Regions from separate parts of the Homo sapiens genome. Here region 2 is linked to region 1. The links are contacts of gene promoters, found by promoter capture Hi-C in blood cells and fetal thymus (Javierre and others, 2016). All regions are on one chromosome and are shown on one strand. Each heading gives the region's core, a stretch centred on a gene start or on the middle of the fragment in contact. The rest is flanking DNA. Distances are from core to core; before and after follow the strand shown.

The links. Contacts are between HindIII fragments. The CHiCAGO score rates a contact against its expected background, and 5 or more counts as called.
Region 2: the fragment with the promoter of ATXN7L3 here is called in contact with the fragment with the promoter of CCDC43 in region 1 in 2 of 17 cell types (M2 macrophages and M0 macrophages); the score reaches 5.9 in M2 macrophages.

Annotation. Positions count from the first base shown.
Region 1 is chr17:44,686,810-44,691,076 of GRCh38, forward strand. It overlaps CCDC43 (coiled-coil domain containing 43), which reads right to left and starts at 2,967. Exons shown (of 5, transcript NM_144609.3): 1 at 2,741-2,967. The coding sequence starts at 2,944. LOC105371792 (a long non-coding RNA gene) reads left to right here. Exons shown (of 4, transcript XR_007065769.1): 2 at 1,045-1,214; 3 at 1,369-1,484; 4 at 2,132-2,204. It overlaps LOC124904010 (a long non-coding RNA gene), which reads left to right and starts at 2,972. Exons shown (of 2, transcript XR_007065770.1): 1 at 2,972-3,045; 2 at 3,186-3,501. RefSeq lists enhancers at 2,700-3,289, 2,958-3,097. The HindIII fragment of the contact is 1,709 bases long and covers 1,880-3,588 here.
Region 2 is chr17:44,198,631-44,202,357 of GRCh38, forward strand. It overlaps ATXN7L3 (ataxin 7 like 3), which reads right to left and starts at 1,254. Exons shown (of 13, transcript NM_001382309.1): 1 at 866-1,254. ATXN7L3-AS1 (ATXN7L3 antisense RNA 1) reads left to right here and starts at 210. Exons shown (of 2, transcript NR_184071.1): 1 at 210-300. RefSeq lists enhancers at 1-71, 276-831, 1,557-2,095, 2,096-2,633 and silencers at 393-1,002, 1,103-1,902. The HindIII fragment of the contact is 7,751 bases long and covers 1-3,272 here.

The DNA of each region.
Region 1 (4,267 bases), core at 1,717-4,216:
GGGTAGTGCCTGGCATACGGTAATCCATCAATAAAAATTTGATAAATCAATCAACCAATGCAAGTACTATTGAAGAGAAGGATGATAAAAGTTTTTGTTTACTGTTATTTGCTCCTAACTATATGCCACTGTTCTTGAATTTTACCTCAGATTATTGCTAACAAACTTCTAAATTCCTCATATTAAATCCTAGCCCAAGTCAGGCACAGAGGCTCACATCTGTAATCTCAGCACTTTGGGAGGCCAAGGCAGGAGGATGTCTTGAGCCCAGGAGCATAAGACCACCCTGAGCAACATGGCAAAACCCTGTCTCTACAAAAAAAAATTTTTTTTTTTTAATTAGCCAGGCATGGCTGGGTGTGGTGGCTCACGCCTATAGCCCCAGCACTTTGAGAGACTGAGATGGGTGGATCACTTGAGGTCAGGAGTTTGAGACCAGCCTGGTCAACATGGTGAAACCCCATCTCTACTAAAAATATAAAAATTAGCCAGGCATGGTGGCATATGCCTGTAATCCCAGCTACTCGGGAGGCTGAGAATCACCTGAACCCAGGAGGCAGAGGTTACAGTGAGCCGAGATTTTGCTACTGCACTCCAGCCTGGGTGACAGAGTGAGACTTTGTCTCAAAAAATAAAACATAAAACATAAAAAAAAAAGTTAGCCAGGCATGATATGTGATGGCAGGTGCCTGTAGTCCTAGCTACTTGGGAGGCTGATGAGAGGGGATTGCTTGAGTCCAGTCGTTCAAGGCTACAGTGAGTTATGATCACATTACTATAACAGAGCGAGACTCTCTTAAAAAAAAAAAAAGGCAAACTAATGTCTACCTTTATCAACAGAAACAGCTCCAAATAATGATGGACTGATCAAGAAGCTGGTACCAAGAAGTCTCAAAGTTATTTCAACAGCTTCATGGAGTGTTTAGAAACTTCCCAGCTGTAAATAAAAACTACCTTAAATTGCTTGCCTCCTACTCTTTCTCCCTATAATCTGTAATGTTGTGGTCCAAAAAAAGAATTGATTCCACTGTCTTGTATTTCCAGTGAACTTCCAAGCTTCCTCACAGGCTGTGTTAAAGTTTTCCCATTTATAAGCCAATCTTGCCAGAAGAGGCTCTGGAACTCAAATGGGTTACTGCCAGAAGAATCTGGGACAGCTGCACTAGTGTTATATTTCAACCATGTACCCAATCTATGAACTGCTTCCACCAAATGTGAGTGATTTTTTCCTAGCACTTGTTTCCGCTTTCACAAAACACTTTTGGATTTGAAAATGTTTCTGCCTTCTACCCTTTTAAAAAAATGAGATATGAATATGTACATTTATATCTATATATATTTATACTAATTTTTTTTTCTTTGAGACAGGGTCACTCTGTCACCCAAGCTGGAGTGCAGTGGCACAATCACGGCTCACTGCAGCCACAGCCTCCTAGGCTCAAGTGATCCTCCCACTTCAGACTTCTGAGTAGCTGGGACTACAGGTATGCGCCACCATACCTGGCTAATTTTTTAAATTTTTTTGTAGAGACAGGGTCTTGCTATGTTGCCCAGTGTGGTGTGGAACTCTTGGCCTCAAGCAATCCTCCCACCTCAGCCTCCCAAAGTGGTGAGATTACAAACATGAGCCACTGTGCCCCACCTCATGGTACATTTTGATTCTATTACTAGCCTTTCAAAATTGGTTTTGAGAATAACAAAGAACCCATTTTTCTAACCTGTCCATTGTAATAAATGCCAGAGGATAAAGCCTTTGATGGACAGACAGGTGGCTCTCACAGTAGCAATCAGGTATCCAGGATCTCCTCTAATCCATGAATGCAGAGACAACTCTAGCTTCTACAGCATTTAGTGATGATTCAAGTAAATTTTATTTTTAAGCTTGTATTTAAAAGGAAACAATTTGTTAGACAGCCACAGGTAGCACCTACAACCAATTTAATCTGTAATAACCAGTCTAATAAGTGTGTATGTTGGAGGTGTGGGAAGTGAAGATGAAGGCAGCAGAAATGATCAGGTTGAAAAAGTGGACATCTGGGTGACTTACTATGTAAACATAGCTTAAAGTACACATTTCTGAATACCTTGCTTCTAACAGGCTAAGGACTAAGTTTCTCTCTCTTCGTTAAAGCTCTGATCTCTCTCATACCCTCCTTCCCACCACCAATGATTACTGTAAATACTGTAATGGATCAAGCACGACGTTTGCTTCAGTTCTGCGTGGGCATGAAAAGACTTCTACCACCAGCTTACCTTTTATGGACTCCTACATCCATATAAGAATCAAAAGGGCACTTCCTGCAGGCTTCTGTCATGGGACAGCCCTGGGAACTGCCTTGTAATAGGCACAGACCTCCCAAGAGCATTTTAATACCCCCAGTGAACACTGTAAACGGATGGAAATGGAATTGGTCGTCAGATATTTATGATAACATTCCCATTCTGACATTTCAATGCCTTCGGAAGAACCCTCCTCGGCTCACTCACAAGCATCGGAGAGGGCCTTGTCCCCAAGAATACGAGAAAGCCCTTCCTCTCTGTGTACCTGCAGCTTTCAGGCTTCCCACACCTGGTTGGGGAGCAACCTCCTTCCCCCGCCGCCCAGATATCAGAGGAGTATACCTCTCCCAGGTGAGACCACTGAGCCTCTGGGATACCCGGTAGGGGAGGGAGGGTGCAAAGTACTGACAGGTCCTCAGATGCTGGCCAGAGGCTGAAGGAATGTGTCCAGGCTACTCACCAGGAAAGCAGAGAGGATCCCCTGCAGAGCGTCCAGCTTCTCTTCTTCCTCCTCCTCCTGCAGGATACCCAAGATGTAGGCTCCATAAACGGCTCGGTCCACTCCCAGTGCCTCCAACCGTCCGTCCAGCCAGGAGCCAAAGCCGCCGCCTCCGCCATCGCCTTCGCCAGGGGCTATCGCGGCCACTTCGCTGGGCGCCGCCATCTTGGGGTCAGGGTCCTGCAAGCCCCTAGGGCGCCTACCGCAGTGCCTGACGGGCCGCGCCGCAGGTCCACCGCGCATGCCTGAAGAGGAAGCCCAGGCCCGTAAGTGCAAAGAGCGCAGCCGTGTCGGCCGGCTTGAGAGTTTTGTGCTTTCTAGATGAAGCGCGTCTTCGCATACGTGCGGTCGCGTGATCTCACAAGATGCTTGGCATGTGAGTATTCTTAACAGACTCATTCTACAGTTCGGGAAGTTGAGAGAGGTGCAGTAATTTGGCCAAAGTCACGCGGCTAATAACTACCCAGGACTGGAGCTCAGCGTGGATGCCATCGCTTCCTCCACCCGACCGAGCTGCCTTCCCCGCGCTTTCGGGGGATGCTGGCCGCCCACTCCCACACAGCTGTCTGGCAAGAACCTCCTGACAGCCTGGAATACCCTCGTCGTCGCTACCGACGGCTACCACCTTCACCTGTACAAGCCCTTCCCTGTCAAAGTAAAGGTTGCAGAAAACCTTCCCTGATTCCATGGTAGGCACTCAGTAAATAAACAGGCAACCTCAAGTTATTTCTTCCACTCATTGATTCAACGCGTGCACGGGACTATTCTTTGAGAAGCGTACCCCACCCTCTGCTAGGCACTGTGCCAAAAGCTTTTCATGCATTATCTCTTGTAATCCTCCCTACAGCCCTGTGGGGAGATGCTTTTATTGTCCACATTTTAAAGATAAGGAGACAGGCCGGGCGCCATGTCTCACGCCTGTAATCCCAACAGTTTGGGAAGCCGAGGCGGGTGGATCACCTGAGGTCAGGAGTTCGAGACCAGCCTGGCCGACATGGTGAAACCCCGTCTCTAGTAAAAATACAAAAATAAGGCCGGGCACGGTGGCTCACTCCCGTAATCCCAGCACTTTGGAAGGCCAAAGTGGGCAGCTCACCTGAGGTCTGGAGTTCGAGACTAGCCTGACCAAAATGGAGAACCCCCGTCTCTACTAAAAATACAAAATTAGCCGGGCGTGGTGGGACATGCCTGTAATCCCAGCTACGTGGGAGGCTGAGGCAGGAGAATCGCTTGAACCCAGGAGGCGGAGGTTGCGGTGAGCAGAGATCGTGCCATTGCACTCCAGCCTGGGCAACAAGAGCGAAATTCCGTCTCAAAACAAACAACAACAACAACAAAAGCCAGGTGTGGTGGCGCGGGCCTGTAATCCCAGCTACTCAGAATCGCTGGAACCCGGAAGGCGGAGGTTGCAGTGAGCCAAGATCGCGCCGCTGCACTCCAGCCTGAGCGACAGTGAGACTCCATCTCAAAAACAAACAAACAAACGAA
Region 2 (3,727 bases), core at 4-2,503, 490 kb before region 1:
CACCCCACTCTGTCTTCCCTTGAAATCAGCCTGCCACTCCACGAGGGGAGCAGAGCCCACAGGAGCCTAGAGCTAAGGGACATTTCTAGCCACCATGAGCAGGAACGGCGGGGGGTGGGGGGGAAGAGCCTGGTAGGGTGGCACGCCAGGAGCGGGCACTCCCCTTACCTGTTCTTCCTTTAAATAACCACCCGCCCTCCCTCAGGACCAGCCCGGAAGTCTCTCCAAGAGCCCCAAAGTCCAGGAACCCCCACCCAAGGATTCAGACACAGAACCCACAACCCAGGGCCCCTCGGAACGGTGGGTACGAGTTTCAGGAGCTGCCGGCCTAGAGTGGGGTGGGGACTGACGAATGAGCCGGGGGCACTGGGAAGGGTAGGAGGCCGGGCCTCGGCTCTTCCCCCGTCCCTGCGGCACTGCTGCTGCATCATACCGACTGGGGGGAGGACAGCCGAGCCGCCGGGGCCGGCGCCGGGCCGGGACAGACCGACCCCCAGAGAGTGGGACGCGTCCCAGCCCCTCTCCTTCCCCGCCCGCCAGCAGCCCCGGCCGGCCGGGGAGAGGAGTCCGGGAGGGTGTCTCTATTGTCCCGGGGGCTGGGGCCTGGCTCCCTAACAAAGGCCCCGCGCCCCCTCCCCGGCCGGCCCTGCCCCGCCCAAGGGGGACCCAGACGGGGGAGAGCCAGGGGCCCCGGCCCGGCCGGGAAGCTGGGGGAAGCCGGGCGTTTCCGCGTCGGCCCGGGGGGAGGGGAAGGGGCGCTGACCCAGACCTGGGGGGAGGGGGCCCAAGCCCCGCCTTGGGCCCCGCCCCCCGCCCCCCACAGGCCCCTCCCCCGTCCCCGTCCCCGTCTCCGTCCCGTACTCACCCCGCCCGGGGGGCCGCGCCGGGGCCCGGCAGCCTCTCAGGGCCGCGTCCTCCGGCGGCGGCGACGGCGGCGGCTGCTCCGGAGCCCCATGTCCGTCGGTCCGTCCTCGCCTCTCCCCGGGGCCCAGGGCCCGGGGCCGGGGGGTCGGGCCGCCCCCCCGCCTGGCCGCCTCACCGGGCGGCCATGGCCCCTTCCCCTCCCTTCTTGTCCCGTCGCCGCCTCCTCCTCCTCACCTCACCCCGCCCGCGCGCAGTCCGCGCGCCGTCCGCGCGCCCCTCCCCCCGCCCCCCACTCCAGCCCGCCTCTCCCGGGCGGGGGGTGCGGCGCGAGCCCGGAGCGCGCGCGCGTGTGCCGCGACCGGAGGATGGATGGATGGAGCGAGCGTGAACGCGAGCGTGCGCGCGCGCGCCCCTCTCCCCCTCCCTCTGCGCGGGCGCGAGGCCAAGCGCGAGCGCGCTCCAACCTCCTCCTCTTCCTCCTCCCGCCCCTCCCCAACACCCCGCCCTCCCCCTCCCTTCCTCTTCCTTCTTTCGCTTTCGCGCGCCCAGCGACTGCTCGCGCCTGCTAGAAGGGCCCGAGCGCGTGCATCTGCCCCGCGGCCGCAGCTCGGCAGCATTTGCTCCAGGGGGCGGGGACCGGGAGGGGAGGAGGGGCGCCACGCCGCCGTCCAAAGTACCGGCGGACGGGGACGGGGGCGGAGAGATGGGCGGGGCCTTCGCGGACCTCCCCGACCAATCGCAGGGAGGCCTCGGCCCGGGAGGACCAATAAGATGGGGGTGGGTGGGGCGGCGTTCAAGGTGAGGTGCGCGGTGCGCTGGGGGCGGAGACGTTTTGCCGTCCCGGCCGGCTCGGGGGCGGGGGCAGCGGGTGGCGTCGAAAGAGAGCGCCGGCTGCCAGCCGAGCCTGGGACGCCTTCCGGCCCAGGCTCCCCCGCCCTTCCCTCGGGGCTCCCCGCTCTCTCCCCCGCCACCCTCCGCTCCCCCCTTTACCCCGAGGCGTGCAGCCACTTCTGTGAAGAGGCCAGACTTGAAGTGGGGCGCAGTTAGGACCTCGGGGCGGAAAGCCTGTGGAGCCTAAGGGGCTCGCCCGCGCCTCAGTTCTCCCGGTTTCTGGGCGGGTCTCAGCCCACTCCAGGCTTGCGGACCAACAAGCGGCCGAGATGAGGGTCCGCTGCTGAGGTCGGAGGCCGAGCTGCGCCCTTCTGCGCGGAGCGCCCTCCCCGCCCCTCGTCCTAATTTAGATCCCACACCTGCTCGCCTTTCCTGCTTCCGGAACCCACGCTGGACCCCCACCCCTCCAGACAGCCTCCTTGTCACTGGCCAGATCCTTCCCCCGACCCAGTGCTGTTCCCCTGGGTGCAGCGTGTCCCTGTGCTCACGCTCTCAGTCCCTCTTTACCTTAGGAAGGGACAGGCCTTTTCCCAGCCGCGGTGGATGGCTGGATTGGCGCTTTCATCTCGGTTACTCTGTGTGTGGTGTCCTGGAACGGTTGTGTGACAGCCCTCTCCCCTCAAGAGATAAGATTAAAAAGGAGGATAGTCTGTAATCACATACTTGGAGCCATCTTTGGTTTTTAGTTTTCAGCAAATACTTATTTTTTTCTCACCGATTTCTCCCGAGAAACAGCAAACATTTATTGAGGCGATATTCCAGAGTAGTTCAGATCAGGCGTCTGATTTGAATTTAAATCGTTGGGCCTAGCAAATGAGTTTCCTGTGCCTCAGTTTCCTCTGTTGTCAGTGGGCATAATGATAGTCCTATCTCCTTGCGTTGCTGTAGTGATTAACAAGTCAGTGCATGTGAAACTCTTAGCTCTGTGTAAGTGCTTGGTAAATCTTAGCTGTTATTCTCACGGTGCTCCAGGTGCTGGGATAAAAGATGATATAAGACAGTTGTGCTTCTTCAAGAAGTTCACTGTCTTGTGGATAGATAGGTAGGATAATAATTGCAAAACAGTGTGAGGAAAACAACAGAGAGAAAACAGAGGTAGACAAAAGGAGACATCAAATGATGTAAGAGAGTTGGTCAAGAAAGGCTTCTTGGGCAGGGTGCGGTGGCCCAGGCCTGTAATCCCAGCACTTTGGGAGGCCAGGAGTTCGAGACCAGCCTGCAAAAATGCAAAAATTAGCTGGGCGTGGTGGCGGGCTCCTGTAATCCCAGGAGCTACTCGGGAGGCTTAGGCAATAGTAGTAATCCAGCTACTCGGGAGGCTTGGGCAGGAGAATCGCTTGAACCCGGGAGGCGGAGGTTGCAGTGAGCTGAGATTGCGCCACTGCACTCCAGCCTGGGCAACTGAGCGAGACTCCGTCTCAAAACAAAACAAAAAAGAAGAAAAAGAAAAACTTCTTATAGAGGGAGATGAACCAGGTGAAGGTAGGCCAAGAAGGCATTGGACATCCCCAACTGGAAGCTTCAGAAGCATGGATCAAGCTGGAACAGAGGAGTGGGTGGCAGAGCAGCAGGAGGTGAGCAGGCTGGATAATACAGGACAAAGCAAAGTAGGTGTTGAAAAGTTTGTGGGCTTTAGCCTGTAAGCTGTGAGGAGTCCTCAAGGGGAATCATTCACCAGACTTATATTTTTAGTGGATCATGCTGGAGTATGGTCTGGAGAATAATTTAGAAGCAGTAGGTTTTTTGTTTTGTTTTGTTTTGTTTTTTTAGACAGCATTTTGCTCTGTCACTCAGGTGCAATCTCAGCTCACGGCAACTTCTGCGTCCCGGGTTCAAGTGATTCTCATGCCTCAGCCTCCTGAATAGCTGGGATTACTGGCGCACGCCACCACGCTCGGCTAATTTTAGTTTTGTATTTTTAGTACAGACAGGGTTGCACCATGTTGGCCAGGCTGGTCTCGAACTTCTGACC